2 separate regions of the Homo sapiens genome follow, and region 1 is linked to region 2. The links are contacts of gene promoters, found by promoter capture Hi-C in human tissues and cell types (Jung and others, 2019). All regions are on one chromosome and are shown on one strand. The core of a region is centred on a gene start or on the middle of the fragment in contact, and the rest is flanking DNA. Distances in the headings are between cores, read along the strand shown. Region 1 overlaps OR4D10 (olfactory receptor family 4 subfamily D member 10). Region 2 holds the start of OR9Q1 (olfactory receptor family 9 subfamily Q member 1).

Region 1 (5,301 bases), core at 1,198-3,697, 1.5 Mb before region 2:
TGAGGCTTTCAATTCGTGAATATAATCTACGTATGTCTTAATTTATGACATTTATTTTCTGTATTTCTGACTTTATTTTCTGTTAATTTTTTGTTCTTGTTTTTATTTTTTGGCATTTGTCTCTGTTCATGAGGTATTTTGGTCTATAGGTACTTTCATTTTTCTTTTTTTTTTTGTGACAGAGTCTCTCTGTTGCCCAGGCTGGCATGGTCTCAGCTCACTGCAACCTCTGCCTCCTGGGTTCAAGAGATTCTCATGCCTCAGCCTCCCAAGTAGTTGAGATTACAGGTATCCACCATGATGCCCGGCTAATTTTTGTATTTTTAGTAGAGATGGGGTTTCACCATGTCCAGGCTTCACCAGCCTGGACAAGGCTGGTCTCAAACTCCTGACCTCAGAAGATCCGCCCACCTCGGCCTCCCAAACTGCTGGGATTATAGGCATGAGCCACCGTGCCCAGCCAAGAAACCAGTTTTTAATATCAAGAAAAACAACTAAGAATTGGTTTTTTTAAAAAGATAAAATTGACAAAACTTTAGATTAAGAAAAAAAGATAGAATACTTTATTAAATAAAATTAGAAACCAAAGAGGAGACATTATAACTGATGCCACAAAAATACAAAGGACTATAAGAGAATACCATAAACTTTTTATATGCTAAAAATTTGGATAACCTAGAAGAAATGGACAAATTCCTAGAAACACACAAACTGTCAAGACTGAATCATGAATAAATAGAAAATATGAAATGGCTAATAACAGATTAAATCAGTAATCAAAAACCTTCCAGCAAGGAAGAGTCCAGGACCTGATGACTTCCCCAGTAAATTTTACCCAACATTTTCTATTTTACTAATTTTTAAAAATTAAGAAAATCTTATTGCTATATAATTGTTATACATATTTTGGGGGTACATGAGATATTTTGATACCTGCATACAATGTGTAATAATCAAAATTAGGGTAGTTGGGATATCCCTCTCTTCAAACATTTGTCTTTTCTTTGTGCTGGGAATATTACACATCTTCTCTTCTAGCTATTGTGAAATATAAAATAAATTATTTGTAACTATAATATTTATATTATAAATATACTTTCCTATTGAATACTGGAACTCATTTCCTCTACAGAACGGTGTTTTTGCACCGCTTCACCAAGTTAGTTCTCTCACCCGCATTCCCCTTCCAGACTCTGGTAACCACCGTTCTACTCTCTACCTCCATAAAATGCACTTTGTAAAACAAGTTTTTCTTATTTATTTATTTTATTTCAATAGGATTTGAGGGGAACAGGTGGCGTTTGGTTACATGGATACATTTTTTTTTTTTTAATTTTTTTGAGACAGGGTCTTCCTCTGTCGCACAGGCTGTAGTACAGTGGCACGATCTTGGCTCACTGCAAACTCCTCCTCCTGGATTCAAGTGATTCTCGTGCTTCAGCCTCCCAGTAGCTGGAATTACAGGCGGGTGCCACCACACCCGGCTCATTTCTGTATGTTTGGTAGAGATGGGGTTTCACAAGGTTGGCCAGGGTAGTCTGGAACTCCTGACCTCAGGTGATCCACCTGCCTCGGCCTCCCAAAGTGCTGGGATTACAAGTGTGAACAACAGTGCCTGGGCCACATGAGACTTTGGTGCAGTCATCACTTGAGCAGTGTACACTGTACCCAATGTGTAGCCTTTTACTCCTCACTCCCCTTCCACCCTCCCCAGTAACATGTTGTCCAGGCTGGTCTTGAACTCCTGGGCCCAAGCAGTCTTTCTATCTTGGCCTCCCAAAGTGCTGGGATTACAGGTGTGAGCCACCACACTTGGCCACTAAACATGCTTTCATACTGATGTCTCCAACACTAATCCATTATCACGTGCTTCATATTTACCTTCCCACCTTGGTTGCTTGTAAGCTCCTATTCCGACATTGAGAAATCTTTAATGTAGTTTTGAATACAGTTGTGCTTACAGCTACCATTTTGATTTTTTTTCTTTTTTCTTTTTTTTTTTTGAGATGGAGTCTCACTTTTTCACTCAGGCTGGAGTGCAGTGGTACAATCTCAGCTCACTGCTACCTCTGCCTCCCAGGTTCAAGCGATTCTCCTGCCTCAGCCTCCAAAGTAGCTGGGATTACAGGTACACGCCACCATGCCCAGCTACATTTTGTATTTTCGGTAGAGACTGGGTTTTATTATGTTGGCCAGGGGTGGTCTCAAACTCCGGAGCTTCAGTGATCCACTCGCCTCAGCCTCTCAAAGTGTTGGGATTACAGGAGTGAGCCACTGTGCGTGGCTCATTTTGCTTTTATTTAAAATTTTTTTCCCATTTATTTTTTGCTTCCTTTTATTATTTTTCTGCCTTCTTTGGGATAATTCAGTGTTTTTAGTTTTTTATTTTATTTCATTTATTGTCTTATTATCTGTATCTTGCAGTTTTATTCTATAGTGATTACTCTAGGGCCTACAATATGCATCTTTAACTCACATCAGATGGCCTTCATATGATATCACTTCATGATGAATATAAACCTTACAACAGTATATTTATTTTCCCACTCTTTTTTTGCCATACATTTTACTTTTATATTTAAATTTTTTTTTGTGATAAAAAATCTTTGGATAAATAACTGATGTGGCTTCTGTTGTCTTGACTTGACCCTGATTGGTAAAGTATTTGGTAACAGAAGTGATAGCAAAAAGCAGACTCTCAAAGGTGAGATTCTGAGATTACTTGAAACGTCCTTGGTCATGAACATCATGCTGAATTCCTTATCCACGGTAAATCAGATTCTGGCAATCCATGGCATACAAAGGCATTATAACTAACCAAATTGTCACATGTTATTGACCGTGACAATTTTCTTAGTGAAGCAAGTGCTTGAATCATGAGGTGACTCCTGTAATTGACTTTGTCAGTACTACAGGGACTGTGGAGGAGGGGTGGCTACTCCTAACTACATTGAATAAATTACACTAAAGAAATGACAAGCAGTTTATATGCTCAGCTCAAGGTGAAGTCTGGGAACCAGAGAGCTTTTTCTTTTTTTCTTTTTAAGAGTCTCACTTTGTCACCCAGGCTGGAGTCTAGTGGCACGATCTCAGCTCACTGCAGCTTCTGCTTCCCAGGCTGAAGTGATTCTTGTGCCTCAGCCTCCTGAGTAGCTGGGATTACAGGCATGTGCCACCACGTCCTGGCAAATTTTTGTATTTTTAGTAGAGACAAGGTTTCCCCATGTTGTCAAGGCTGGTCTCAAACTCTTGACCTCAAATGATCCACCTGCCTTGGCCTCCCAAAATGCTGTGATTATAGGTGTGAGCCACCATGCCTGGCCCCAGAGAGCTTTTATGCAAGTCTTCAGCTACTTATGTATTTCTTATTGCCATAGGGCTGACCTCATAGAAGTCAGATACATAATTTAATTGTGCAATGTCCTGAATTACATCAGGAATTGAGTTCAAAGGTTTTCTGTGTCTCTGTTGTGAAAAGTAGAGTGTTGATTGGAGTGGGAATATAAGGTAGCACTTAAATGGATTGCTTCCATTTTACCATAACATATAATTTGTGTTATAATATTTATATTGACTTTTTATTAGGTTAAGAAAGAATGCTTCTTTTCTTTATTTATTTATGAGTTTTGGCCATAAATTGGTGTTGAATATTATCAAGTGCTTTTCTATATTTACTGAGGTAATCACATTTTTCTTTAATCTGTAAGAAATATGTTAGCAGATTCTTTTTGCTTGTGAACATGAAAGGCAGAGACAATTGTACTTAGTTCATGAACACTGCCACTATTGGTTCAGGAAAGAATTTACCTTTATATAATGATGTATCACCTTTTATCCCTAGTTCCCACTCTCTTTCCCTGGAACTCAGAAACCATTAAGGGAACTTCGTAATGAAAGATTAAATTTCCAGCCACCACAACTGAATGGAAGCTTGAAATAGAAATCAAGTTATATAAAATTTTAAAACGTTACATTTCTTGCATGTCTAGGTTGTGGGACAATATTAGTATCAGATACAGAAAGAATTCCAGTTTCAATAAGAACTCCAGATCCCTATAAAAAATATTAAGTGAACAGCTAAAAACATAATTGCAGCAATGTGTAAAATAATCATTTTTCACTTTTTTCCAAGCTTTATATATGTATATGCATAGCTTAAAGTAGCTTAATGTGTTTTTGTCATTTGTAGAAACTCACAGGCCACAGAGTATATCAAGTAAGTGAAAACATTCAATCATTGAGCTATTTATTCAGCAACATATTGTTGAAGTCTTAGTATGTTTTAGCTGCTGTGACAGTAAATAAAACATAATCCCTGCTCCTGGGGAAGTCACTGCCCAGTAAGAGAAAGAGACAAGAAAATAGGAAATTTCAAAATAGAGTCCTGAGTGCAATGCTAACCCTAAGCACAGAGTGCCAAGGAAATGCGGTAGGGTGGCCAGTGAGCTTGGGGTTCAAGAAAGGGCAAGGTAATGACCTTGCCCATCATAAGGATCATGTAGGATACGTTTACCTTATGAAAATTATACAGAAAGTCAATCCCCAAACTCCATTGTGTTTCAGATACACCCCACACCTTCATTTACTGTAATAGGAGCAGAAAGGTAATGATAATGTCTGCGTGCATTTGGCTTAATTTTTCTTTAAAATTGGACTGCAAAATCATATACACATTTGCTAACAATTTTCCCTCTCTTTTCTGAATCACAAAGGCTCTGTTTAAATTATTAATATTTATGTCAACTAAATGCAGATAAGAAGATTTACTATATATAATATGCATTTGCTAGGTATATATATAATTTTATGTATTACTTATGAAAATAAAACAAATACTTAGCAATCACTAAATAAATATATTCAATTCAGCAGGCAACACTTTCAGAACTTGGAGTCCATGGAAGAAAAATCATGAAACAAAATCTTGGTGGTAAAGAGGAGGGAGCTCTGGTTTATTTTCAATTAGAAGGTGTGAATCTCTCCCTGACCAGAAGCTTATCAGTTACTTACTAACATAAATAGAAAAATTAATTATTACTAAGTGTAGTTGGTTTGACAATATATTTGAATATATGAATATGACTTCATGGGAAAAATAATAAATATAAGATATCTTTGGTGATGAAGAGCTGAGGATTTTTTTTTCTATTTTCTATCAGAAGGCACAAGTCTTCTCTTCAGTCTCCTCATGGCTGACTTCATCTCATGGTTCCTCAGAGTGTAGATCAAGGGGTTGAGCAGAGGGGAGATGACAGTGAAGGTGACAGAGATGGCCTTATCCATGGGGAGGGCAGTGAAGGG
Region 2 (5,647 bases), core at 202-2,701:
CCTATAGTAGCACGGCGGGCACCCCAGCTACTCAGGAGGCTGAGGCAGGAGAATCTCTTGAACCCGGGAGGCGGAGGTTGCAGTGAGCTGAGATCGCGCCACTGCACTCCAGCCTGGCGACAGGGCAAGACTCCGTCTCAAAAAGAAAGGGTCATTTACGGAGCCCCTCCCATGGGCTAGATTCTGATGGGCTGATACCATCTGGCTTAATCCCCACAATATTGTACTATGATCCTATGAACTATTCTTGATATAGAGGTGTTATTTGTCTTGGTTTTCACGCAATTGAAATCACTGAAGGCTCAGAGAGACAGTAAGTAAACTTGGGCAAGATCAAAGAACTACATGGCACAGAGAAGAGCCAAACCCCAGAGCTTCTGACAAAAAAAGCCTCCACACCGTGCCATTTTCCTCTGCCATCTCATTTCACCCAATGACAACGTGCCTGCAACCCTGGCTCCCTGCCCTGACTCTGAGGTTAATTTCCCTGCAGCTCGGAGCCCCGCCAAGGCTGGAGGAATATCCCACAGGCTCCAGTGAGCTGCAAAGCACAGTCACACTCCCAGGGCTATTAACAGCATCCGCTTCCTCTCCAAGGTTCAGGGAACTTTATCCACCAAGTGCCATGCAGGAAAAAAGAGGTCAGCCAGAGAGGAGAGGGTCACACGGGGCAATCACTAAATAAGGAGAAAGGCCGCACAGGAACTTGGCCCAATTTGGTGTCCTCAAAAGACGGTGCTCCCTGGCCAAGATTTTCCCTAACAAATATGGAAAAACAGTTTGAGGCCCATGCACGAAAATTGAAACTTGGTTCCTGTAGCTATTTGCTTGTGTAGCTACGTGACAAGCCTGGTGAGAAACGCTGGATTTCTCCCTCTTTCAGTTCTCTCCACCTGGCATCTGGGGGCCTAGTCCCAAAAAGTGAAAGGAACTGGAAAATAAACTTACTAAGATCCAGGAAATGATTTCAAAAAAAAACAGCCAACAAACCGAGGTGAGCAGGCGCAGTGGGTGGGTGTTATGAGACAGACAGCGGGGCTAGGAGATGCCCAGGATGAAGCCCGGAGACCTGCTCTCTGATTCCTCTTGGGTCTAGCTCATCACAGCCTGCTTCCCCACTCCCACTGCAACGTGACAGCAACAGCACATCTCACTTTCCAACATGCAGACAGCCCCCTGTGTTAACAGCACCGTCTCTGAAATCAGTGGAGCTGCATTTGACCCTACCTCCGTCAGGCCGTAGCTGTGAGTTTGGGAAAGGCGTTTGATCTTTCTGAGCCTCAGTGTCTTCATCTTCAAACGGGAAGGATAACATGTACATTGCTGGGCTGGACTAAAGATGGAAGGAGACATCATTAAGGGAAAGTTAGGGCCTTTGCTCCTTTCGCTCCCTCTACCATCTCTGTGTGGCATCCTCCTGCACTTCTTCAATTCCCTGCACAAGGGCCACCTTAACAGAGAGGCCCTTTCTGACCACCTATCTGAAAACGCAGTTCCTTTCACTCTCTGACCCTCTTCTCAGTTTGATTTTTTGGGTCACAGCTTCATTGCCATCTGGTAGATATTTATTTGTTTGTCTATAACATCACGCACACACACACACACACACACACAAAAGGAAGCTCCTTGAAGATAGTGCCTTTGTTTGTTTGTTCATTACTGTGTTGCTAATGCCAAAGTCACTGACATGTAGTCTACATGCAATAAATATATACTGATGTAATAAAAGGGTGGCTGCATGCTCCTGATTGTACGTTGGCAGCGTACTTAGTTTCCTTTCCATTTCTAGCTACCTGTTTTTAAGGAAATTTAAGGAAAAGGAAGTTCAACAATACTTACAGAAAAGTCAATCAATTTGGGTGTTGTCCATGCAATTACTGTCAACGGACTACAAGACTGACAATGCCTGCAGGAATGATGTCTTGTATATCTGGAGCAGCCTGCTCTCATGGCCTTGGGTGGGAGGCAAATTGAATTGATTTCTACATATAATTTCTTTTTCTTAGCTACAGAATTTAATTCTAAATTTCCCGGAAAGCTGTACTCTATCAGCTGTTTTCAAACTCTGTTCCACCAAGCCCTAGGTTTGCTTAGTTGCCAGGTAGCTGGGAAGAGGAAAGGACCTAGTATGTGGGGCTCTCAAAATCCCTGCTTCAACCAGCTAGTAAGTGACAGAGTCCAGATGAGAATCCAGCCCAGTCTGACTCCAGAGCCCACCATCTTTCCATCATACCACCTCCCCAGGGAGGGTGATATTCCTAAAATAAAATCTGATCAATTAACTGGGCGCTTCTCTCATTATTCCAGGACTTCAATACTGAGCAGATACAATCTGTTCCTCAAAGCTACTGACATATAGTCTGCCTATGATGGGAACAAATGGGAAACTGAGGTATAAGAAAATAAGTGGGAGGCTTCTCCAGCCATATATGTGACAGAGACCCCAGACCCAAACCAAGCCAGAGAGTCCACTATAGCAGACAGGAACCAAGGTGAGAATCAAGCTTTCTGAGCTTCTAGCTCTTAATCTCTAGGCAGCAATAATATCTATTCTTGTTGTCTCTCAGAACATTCTGTGAATTGATGAGATAGTGGATGTGCGGGTTCTTTGAAACTTTAAAGGTACACTCTGGTAAAACCTGCTTACTCTTTTGCTTCTATTGCTTATGGACTATGCGATGACCACAGAATTTCAATAAAGGGACAGCATGGGAATGGCCATCTGGTGGGACTCTGGGAATGGTCATGAAGCTGCCCTGGAATAACAAAAGCAAATTGATTTTGTTTAGATTGTAGGTTTGAGGTGGCTTGAGGAGGCAGATGGAGATGAAGGAGAACTAAAACCCCACAAAGTCCCTCGGCACCCCTACTCTATAAGAGCTTAAGCAAATCAGTTGAATTCTGTGTGCCTCCATTTTCTCACTTGAAAACTGAATTGATATTTAAAACCACAATGACTCTGTAAAAGAGCTTTTGGGCCGGGTGTGGTGGCTCATACCTGTAACCCCAGCACTTTGGGAGGCCGAGGTGGGTGGATCACTTGAGGTCAGGAGTTCGAGACCAGCCTGGCCAACATGGTGAAACCCTGTCTCTACTAAAAATACCAAAACTAGCCAGGCATGATGGCATACACATGGTAATCCCAGCTACTCAGGAGGCTGAGGCAGAATTGCTTGAACCCAGGAGGTGGAGGTTGCAGTGAGCCGATATCACACCACTGCACTCCAGCCTGGGTGACAGAATGAGACTCTGACTCAAAAATAAATAAAATAAATAATTTTTTTTAAAAAAAAAAAAGAGGTTTTGAACAACAAAAAATGAGATTACAAACTGGGAAAACTCTGAAGAAAAGATTGGGCTATACCAAAGTCAGGAATCATACCTCTAGATTTGGTATCCATTTGATTGATAACATTCCTTCCATACACCACGCCTTGCATGCTCTTTGGATATAGGCCTCTAGAGGAGCCACGTACCTGCCTCCCACTGCTTCTCTAGTTTCCTAGTGTCTTCTCTGGGTGAAACACCAAGGCCAAGCATGCCCAGAACCTTGGAACTGGTGGCCAGGACAGGTTATTGAATCCCACTGAAGAACAGAGACCCCAAATTCAAGGAGCACAGTTTCTCTGAACCAAAGGTAGAGGGCACAGATCTGCCACTGGCTGAACTGGAAAGAGAAGTAACAAGAATTGTAGCTGGCTATAAGATGCCTCATACTCCACGTATGTGCCTGTAACTCTCCCAGGGGTGACCCATGGGACCATTTCTCCATGGAGGTTTAAAGCTCTCAGACAACAAAGAAAAGAAAATAATAAATTATGAAAAACTTTGTCCCAGAGGGTATGCAGAAGCTACGTGGGAGTTCCAAATCTGTAGATTAGGACGACGGATGCCTCAGAGTGGAGGATGAGGGGCCAACCAGGGAAGATTCCGTGACAGCTAGACTCTTTGCCAAGGTCTCTGACTCCAAACTACTCTAGAATATGGTGACACGAAATCTATAGAGTTCAGATTTATCACAGATGCAGTGAGGCCTTCCTCAATAGAGTGGGTCAGATATCACCATCCACCTACCTGCCCCCTATCCCCCACTTCTGGAAAATAATCTGCAATGATAACACCAGACATTACTGAGTAGCCACTCTGGGCCAGGCTCTGTGCAATATAGATGTGAAGTACCAGCTTCAACCCTTAAGGAGCTCACAATTCCATAGAGGCTGTGACTTAGGGTCACTTTTAACCTGAATGTTGCTGTGCCAAATTGCCTTCCTTTCAAAGAGTTAATCTGGGGCATTTGATGATTGTTTACAGGCTGGGCAATTGTTTTCTCCAAAAGGGAAATACAGTGTTATTTCAATATAAAGCAAAAAGAACATCAAGGATGGTGAGTATCCACTGTGTTTGATCACAGAAGGCAGCTGGACCAAAGCTGGCAAAGCCCAAAGGCAATATAGATGACTTGTTCTTTAACACATCTTCAACGCATAGGATCATTTTCTTTGATTTTGTATGACTTGGGTCCAGCCTTAATGTATCAGGTGCAAATATCTTGTCTTCCCAACTAAACAATAAAGATCTTTTACCACAGGGCCATGTCTTATATTTTCTGCATTCCCAAAAAGCCTAGTGCAGTACTGCTCAGTGTAAAACATCACAGACTTGTGATAAAAGAAAAACTTTAGCTGAATTAAATTTAAAGGAGTTTAGTTGAGCAATGAACAATTCGTGGATTGGGTAGCCCCCAGAATCACAGCAGATTCACAGAGACTCTAGGGGTGCCTCGTGATCAGAACAAATGTATAGACAAAAAAGGTAAAGTGATATACAGAAATCGGAAGTGAGAAACAGTGAGATTGGTTACAGCTGGACGTTTGCCTTATTTGAAGGCAGTAATATTCAACAGTCTGTGAGTGGTTGAAGTATGGCCGCTAGGATTAGCCAACACGCAGCTATTGTTACAGGTGCACACTAGTAAGTTAGGTTTTCAATTTTATATATTATGATGATGAGGTCTACAAAATTGTATATAATTGTTGTTCCACTGTAATCTATTACGCTAGGTTACAGCTCATCCACGAGGACTCAGCTATAGAAGTACAGAGTCCTTCTCAGGCCATATTTAGTTTGCTTTAACACTTGGACTTGAATCCTACATAAGCCTCTTCATAGACCTGCTACCTTTCTAAAATTAGGAAAATAAAACTACATGACAAGGATGTACTTAGAGATAAATAAGGAAACAAAGTTGAGGGCTTTGTCCACCTGACAGTAGACATAAGATCATTATACCACGACACTTCAGGCTGCTCTAGGCAGGAAGGATGTTGAACCGTGCCGTATCTGCATTCCCACTCAATGGAAAAACCTCTTTGCAGCTCTGACCCAATCTGTCAATGACTCTCACTCTGCAAATCTAAAAAATAAAAAAAATTTAAAAATTAAAAAATCCTCTTCTGCATTCACATGTAAGGCTGATCAAAAGCAACTAGGAAGAACACCATGTCTTCAGGCCAAGGACATTCAGAGGGAAACAGCCACCTGGAGAACAAAGGAAATAGAGGCAAACTCCAAACCTCTGCTCTCCAGCCCAGGCCCCACTGGTTCCTGCCTTTCTCCTCTCCTTTCTGGAACACTATGTCTTTCTGGC

The links. Contacts are between HindIII fragments. The study calls those that stand out against the background at their distance.
Region 1: a contact is called between a fragment that was not itself captured here and the fragment with the promoter of OR9Q1 in region 2, in 1 of the 25 tissues and cell types used here (stomach).

Annotation. Positions count from the first base shown.
Region 1 is chr11:59,478,210-59,483,510 of GRCh38, reverse strand. It overlaps OR4D10 (olfactory receptor family 4 subfamily D member 10), which reads right to left. Exons shown (of 3, transcript NM_001004705.2): 3 at 4,150-5,301. The coding sequence ends at 5,146. Among named protein-coding and RNA genes, the nearest start is that of OR4D10, 7.5 kb to the right of the region's middle. The HindIII fragment of the contact is 4,232 bases long and covers 332-4,563 here.
Region 2 is chr11:58,019,685-58,025,331 of GRCh38, reverse strand. It overlaps OR9Q1 (olfactory receptor family 9 subfamily Q member 1), which reads right to left and starts at 1,451. Exons shown (of 3, transcript NM_001005212.4): 1 at 1,228-1,451. LOC107984331 (a long non-coding RNA gene) reads left to right here and starts at 913. Exons shown (of 3, transcript XR_001748218.1): 1 at 913-1,245; 2 at 2,308-2,492. The HindIII fragment of the contact is 7,062 bases long and covers 1-5,083 here.